Regions from separate parts of the Homo sapiens genome. Here region 2 is linked to region 1. Evidence: promoter capture Hi-C in human tissues and cell types (Jung and others, 2019). All regions are on one chromosome and are shown on one strand. Each heading gives the region's core, a stretch centred on a gene start or on the middle of the fragment in contact. The rest is flanking DNA. Distances are from core to core; before and after follow the strand shown.

Region 1 (3,442 bases), core at 722-3,221:
AGTAAATTCATTACAAAAAAACAAGACTTTCAATGCTTCTGCGAAGACATACCTTGTAGGCCTAGTGTGGTGGCTCACATCTGTAATTCCAGTGCGTTGAGAGGCTGAGGTGGAAAGACTGCTTGAGGCCAGGAAGTAGAAGCTGCAGTGAGCCGAGATCATGCCACTGCTCTCCAGCCTAGGCGGCAGAGAGAGACCATGTCCCCCCCCAAAACAAAACAGAACAAAGCCAAAAAAAACACCAAAGACATATCTTGTAGTGACAGTCAGTCATTTCTTGCCCCATTTCTCCCCTCCTTTATGCTCTACTCCATCATTGGGAAGAAGAGAGTTACCACAAATAACTGGATCAAGTCACTGCCCTCTGGCTAAATAGGAATTCCAAATATCTTTTGATACAAATACATACAAAATGCACAAGGCTTATAGAAAAAACTTTGGTGATTTTCATCCTCATGAGTACAACTTAAACATATTTCAAATCAGAGTATAAAGCCACAAATCAATATATTACAACCACCATCCATATCCAATCAACTGTCACGCATCTGGATGGGGTCCTCTCCCGCTTTCTTCACGGCTATGTGTTTCCCTCTCTCATTCTGAGCGTCTTTTTTTTCTCCTTTTCTGTTTTGCACCCCTTTCTTTATTCCCTCTTTTATGTCTGTTCTGCCCAATGCTCTGCAACTTACTTCACCTCTCGTAGCTCTTTCTCCCCAATCTTTCCGATTGTCCCCAATCTCCACGTATTTCTGCCTCTTTTCCCCCATCTAAGCTCCCTCTCTGCTCTCCTTGTTAAATTCCCTCTTCCCTGTTACATCTCCTTTGTTCCCACTCTCTAGCACCCCCAATTTCCTAGGCTTACTCCCTGCTGTGGTTCTCCCTCTACTCTGCTTGTCACCCACTGCCCTCTCTCCCTCTCTTTCAGTCCCAGCACCACGTAGCTCTGTCAGCCGCGGCTCCAACTCTTTCACCTTCTCCCCACTGTCTGTCTGTCTGCAGTGCCTCCTCCTTTGCCGCCCCACTCTATTTTGCTGCCCTTCATCTCTCTGAAGGTCCCCTTTTTTTCTAAATTTCTCTGTGTGCTTTTCTCCCCCTGCTACTTTTTCCATCCGTTCTCTTTCACTCTTGCTCTCTTTGCAAGTCCCTAAAGTATCATCCATTTTGCCGTGTATTTATGGGTCTCCCTCATTCTTTTCTCCTCAGTTTTTCCTTTTGCTCCGTCGTTCCCCGTCTTTTCCTCTCCTGATCCCTCTCACCCACACATTCGGGAGGAAAGGGGAGGAATAGGATGCCCACCTCCCGGAAGAGCACATTTTCCAGTGGAGTAAAATTTGGGAAGGAAGAACACTGGGTGTCACAAGACAGACTCAGGTAACCTGTCCCAACGGGGAGTCAAGAAAAGCAGTGGCTGTGAAGGGGAAGCCTGGGGAGCGGAAGGACCCGGCGTGAGGACGACACGAGGTGGCGCGGAGAACGATGTCTCACGACAGGGAGGGTCTGCAGAATCCCAGGACGTGGGAGGAGAAGCGGCTCCTTCAGGAGCCGGACAGTGGGCGCTCCCCTCCAGGGGCAGACGACGGAGGAGCTCGGGGATCGCGAAGGGCGCTAGTCCACATCCCGAATGAGGACTCGACTTGGCGCGGGGCCCAAGCAGAGGGTTTTAAGCGGGAACACTACCTGAATGGGGTTGTCTACATGGTCCTAAGGAAGAAAGGCAGAGAGCAAGGAACGGCCTCAGAGAGATTTTAAACCGAAAGGGAAGCAATTCTCCTACTTACTTGGGACGAAGGGGCTGTTGCGGGTATTTTAAGGTCCGTAGCGATCCCCAGGTCACGGGTATGGAGAACCGAGGACTGCGAAGTGCACGTTTAATCAAGGTAGACGAAGAGAAGCAAACGTTTAATCCAGGTAGACTGAAACACACTCATAGCGACGTGGCCTTTCCCCAGCGCGATCTGCTTCCGGGTGTGCAGGAAACTGGGCGCGGAAAGAAAAACTGGGCGGCCTGGGGGCGGGGCCTAGGCGGGGCGCGACTAGGAAAGGGCTGGGCGGAAAGACTGGCCTGACTTGGGAGTGGCCCGAAAGGGTGGTGGGAGGCCCAGGGCGGTAGGGGGCGTGACTAGGTGGGGCTTGGCTGGACCGAAAACTGGGATGAAGCGGGGCCTCCAGGGGTGGGCGGGGCCGAGGCGGGGCCTGTTCTCCACTCCGCCTCTCACCCAGCAGGATTTTGTTTTCCAGGTTTGGGAGTATTTGTGACTATTTCTTGTCCTGTGAAGCAGCGTTGCTCCTTGCCCATTTTAAATTAATGTTTCAGAATTTAAGGTTGAATCTTAAAGTTGTGGTCCACTTATACTGGAAACTAAGATGATTTATTCTTAACAAGTTGAACTGATTTAAGTCAAAACCGATTTTTCCGAGCCTGGTGGACTCCATCCAGTCTTACCAGAAAAGCTGAAGCTACTCAGTAGTCAGGGAACTGGGATCTCGGTGGGGATTGGATGTGGAGCAGTGACTGGATCCAGGAACCCAGAAGACATTATGCCAAGCGAAATGTGCTAGACACAGTGTAGAAAATGAAATAAGTAGAGGTTCCTCTTCAAAGGGACTTTCCTCCCAGTCTAATTGAGAATAGATAGTAACCTCTCTTAGAAGCAAAATTTACTCAAAGACCTGTGCTAATATTCTTAAATATCTGCTAGCCATAATAGATAAATCAATATACTCTGTGTTCTTAGCTCCCACATTTTAGCCTAGATATTTGCCCTGGCATGCCTGAATTGTTCCAAGCAAGCATTAGGTCACAGCCTATTCCTCTTCCTTATTTGGAAGTGTTTTTGCCTCTCTCAGCCTTCCACAAGTTACTTCCTCTCTTCCTTTGTTCTCCTCTGCCTTTGCCTCTTTTGGGAAGTTCTAAGGTGCTAGCCAATCAGGTCAAGCACAGAATTGGGTCCGATTCCAGCCAATGGAAACCAGACACAGCAGTAGGGTGGACGCGTCAGGTTATTATTATTATTATTTTTTTTGAGACGGAGTCTCGTTCTTTCGCCCAGGCCGGAGTGCAGTGGCGCTATCTCGGCTCACTGCAAGCTCTGCCTCCTGGGTTCACGCCATTCTCCTGCCTCAGCCTCCCGAGTAGCTGGGACTAGAGGCACCTGCCACTGCGCCCAGCTAATTTTTTGTATTTTTAGTAGAGACGGGGTTTCACTGCGTTAGCCAGGATGGTCTCGATCTCCTGACCTCGTGATCCGCCCACCTCGGCCTCCCAAAGTGCTGGGATTACAGGCATGAGCCACCGCGCCCGGCCAGATGCGTCAGGTTATAAATGACCCTTCTCTTTTGTTCATGTGTACTCTCGTGGCAAGACTGCTAGTGAGCAGCACCCTTTCTGCAGAAAGTAAACTAGCCTTGCTGAGAGATCCTTTGTCTCAGTGTTGATTTT
Region 2 (3,624 bases), core at 357-2,856, 41 kb before region 1:
TCTCCACCTCAAATCAACAGAATATACATTTTTCCTAGCACCACATTGCACTTATTCCAAAATTGACCACATAGTTGGAAGTTAAGCACTCCTCAGCAAATGTAAAAGAACAGAACTTATAACAAACTGTCTCTCAGACCACAGTGCAATCAAACTAGAGCTCAGGATTAAGAAACTCACTCAAAACCGCTCAACTACATGGAAACTGAACAACCTGCTCCTGAATGACTACTGGGTACATAACGAAATGAAGGCAGAAATAAAGATGTTCTTTGAAACCAATGAGAACAAAGACACAACATACCAGAATCTCTTGACACAGTTAAAGCAGTGTATAGAGGGAAATTTATAGCACTAAATGCCCACAAGAGAAAGCAGAAAAGATCTAAAATTGACACCCTAACATCACAATTAAAAGAACTGGAGAAGCAAGAGCAAACACATTCAAAAGCTAGCAGAAGGCAAGAAATAACTAAGATCAGAGCAGAACTGACGGAGATACAGACATAAAAAACACTTCAAAAAATCAATGAATCCAGGAGCTGGTTTTTGAAAAGATCAACAAAATTGATAGACTGCTAGCAAAACTAATAAAGAAGAAAAGAGAGAAGAATCAAATAGACACAATAAAAAATGATAAAGGGGATATCACCACCGATCTCCAGAAATACAAACTACCATCAGAGAATACTATAAACACCTCTACGCAAATAAACTAGAAAACCTAGAAGAAATGGATAAATTCCTGGACACATACACCCTCCCAAGACTAAACCAGGAAGAAGTTGAATCCCTGAATAGACCAATAACAGGCTCTGAAATTGAGGCAATAATTAATAGCCTACCAACCAAAAAAAGTCCAGGACCAGACAGATTTACAGCTGAATTCTACCAGAGGTACAAAGAAGAGCTGGTACCATTCCTTCTGAAACTATTCCAATAAATAGAAAAAGAGGGAATCCTCCCTAACTCATTTTATGAGGCCAGCATCATCCTGATACCAAAGGCTGGCAGAGACACAACATAAAAATAGAATTTTAAACCAATATCCCTGATGAACATCGATGCAAAAATCCTCAATAAAATACTGGCAAATCAAATCCAGCAATACATCAAAAAGCTTATCCACCAAGATCAAGTTGGTGTCATCCCTGGGATGCAAGGCTGGTTCAACATACACAAATCAATAAACATAATCCATCACATAAACAGAACAAAAGGCAAAAACCACATGATTATCTCAATAGATGCAAAAAAGGCATTCGACAAAATTCAACAGCACTTCATGCTAAAAACTCTCAATAAACTAGGTATTGATGGGATGTATCTCAAAATAATAAGAGCTACTTATGACAAACCCACAGCCAATATCATACTGAATGGGCAAAAACTGGAAGCATTCCCTTTGAAAACTGGCACAAGACAGGGATGCCCTCTCTCACCACTCCTATTCAACATAGTGTTGGAAGTTCTGGCCAGGACAATCAAGCAGGAGAAAGAAATAAAGGGTATTCAATTAGGAAAAGAGGAAGTCAAATTGTCCCTGTTTGCAGATGACAAGATTGTATATTTAGAAATCCCATCGTCTCAGCCCAAAATCTCCTTAAGCTGATAAGCAACTTCAGCAATGTCTCAGGATACAAAATCAATGTGAAAAATCACAAGCATTCCTATACACCAACAACAGACAAACAGCCAAATCATGAGTGAACTCTCATTCATAATTGTTACAAAGAGAATAAAATACCTAGGAATCCAACTTATAAGGGATGTGAAGGACCTCTTCAAGGAGAACTACAAACCACTGCTCAACGAAATAAAAGAGGACACAAACAAATGGAAGAACATTCCATGCTCATGGATAGGAAGAATCAAGATCGTGAAAATGGCCATACTGCCCAAAGTAATTTATAGATTCAATACCATCCCCATCAAGCTACCAATGACTTTCTTCACAGAATTGGAAAAAACTACTTTAAAGTTCATATGGAACCAAAAAAGAGCCCATATTGCCAAGACAATCCTAAGCCAAAAGAACAAAGCTGGAGGCATCACGCTACCTGACTTCAAACTATACTACAAGGCTACAGTAACCAAAAGAGCACGATACTGGTACCAAAACAGAGATATAGACCAATGGAACAGAACAGAGCCCCCAGAAATAGTACCACACATGTACAACCATCTGATCTTTGACAAACATGACAAAAACAAGAAATGGGGAAAGGATTTCCTATTTAATAAATGGTGCTGGGAAAACTGGCTAGCCATATATAGAAAGCTGAAACTGGATCCCTTCCTTACACCTTATACAAAAATTAATTCAAGATGGATTAAAGACTTAAATGTTAGACCTAAAACCATAAAAACCCTAGAAAAAAACCTAGGCAATACCATTCAGGCCACAGGCATGGGCATGGACTTCATGACTAAAACACCAAAAGCAATGGCAACAAAAGCCAAAATTGACAAATGGGATCTAATTAAACTAAAGAGCTTCTGCACAGTAAAAGAGACTACCATCAGAGTGAACAGGCAACCTACAGAATGGGAGAAAATTTTTACAACCTACCCATCTGACAAAGGGCTAATATCTAGAATCTACAAAGAACTTAAACAAATTTACAAGAAAAAATCAAACAACCCTATCAAAAAGTGGGTGAAGGATATGAACAGACCCTTCTCAAAAGAAGACATTTATGCAGCCAACAGACACATGAAAAAATGCTCATCATCACTGGCCATCAGAGAAATGCAAATCAAAACCACAATGTGTTACAGGAAGGCAGGGACCCCAAACAGAGAGACCAGATGGAGCTGCGGCAAAGGAACATAAATTGTGAAGATTTCACTTTAATATGGACATTTATCAGTTCTCAAATAATACTTTTATAATTTCTTATGCCTGTCTTTACTGTAATATCTTAATCCTGTTATCTTCATAAGCTGAGGATGTACGTCACCTCAGGACCACTGTGATAATTGTGTTAACAGTGGTTCTGCTTTTGCCCTTTGCCCTGTGATCTTTGTTGGACCCATATCAGTGGTTCTACTTTTGCCCTTTGCCCTTTTCCCTCAGAAAGATGTAATCTTTGTTAGACCCTTATCAGTGGTTCTGCTTTTTGCTCTTTGAAGCATGTGATCTTTGTACCTACTCTCTGTTCTTACACCCCCTCCCCTTTTGAAACCCTTAAAAAAAAAACTTACTGGTCTGAGACTCAGGCGGGCATCACAGTCCTACCGATATGTGATGTCACCCCTGGAGGCCCAGCTGTAAAATTCCTCTCTTTGTATTGTCTTTATTTCTCAGCCGGCTGACACTTATGGAAAATAGAAAGAAACTACATTGAAATATTGGGGGCAGGTTCCCCCAATAACAACGAGATACCATCTCACACCAGTTAAAATGGTGATCATTAAAAAGTCAGGAAACAACAGGTGCTGGAGAGGATGTGGAGAAATATGAACACTTTTACACTGTTTGTGGGACTGTAAACTAGTTCAACCATTGTGGAAGACAGTGTGGCGATTCCTCAAGGATCTAGAACTAGAAATACCACTTGACCCAGCCATCCCATTACTGGGTATATACCCAAAGGATTATAAATCATGCTGCTATAAAGA

Evidence for each region. Contacts are between HindIII fragments. The study calls those that stand out against the background at their distance.
Region 2: a contact is called between a fragment that was not itself captured here and the fragment with the promoter of ZNF841 in region 1, in 1 of the 25 tissues and cell types used here (aorta).

What each region holds. Positions count from the first base shown.
Region 1 is chr19:52,093,794-52,097,235 of GRCh38, forward strand. ZNF841 (zinc finger protein 841) reads right to left here and starts at 1,972. Exons shown (of 7, transcript NM_001136499.2): 1 at 1,782-1,972; 2 at 53-178. The HindIII fragment of the contact is 12,551 bases long and covers 1-3,442 here.
Region 2 is chr19:52,053,628-52,057,251 of GRCh38, forward strand. No RefSeq gene overlaps it. Among named protein-coding and RNA genes, the nearest start is that of ZNF432, 6.6 kb to the left of the region's middle. The HindIII fragment of the contact is 8,170 bases long and covers 1-3,624 here.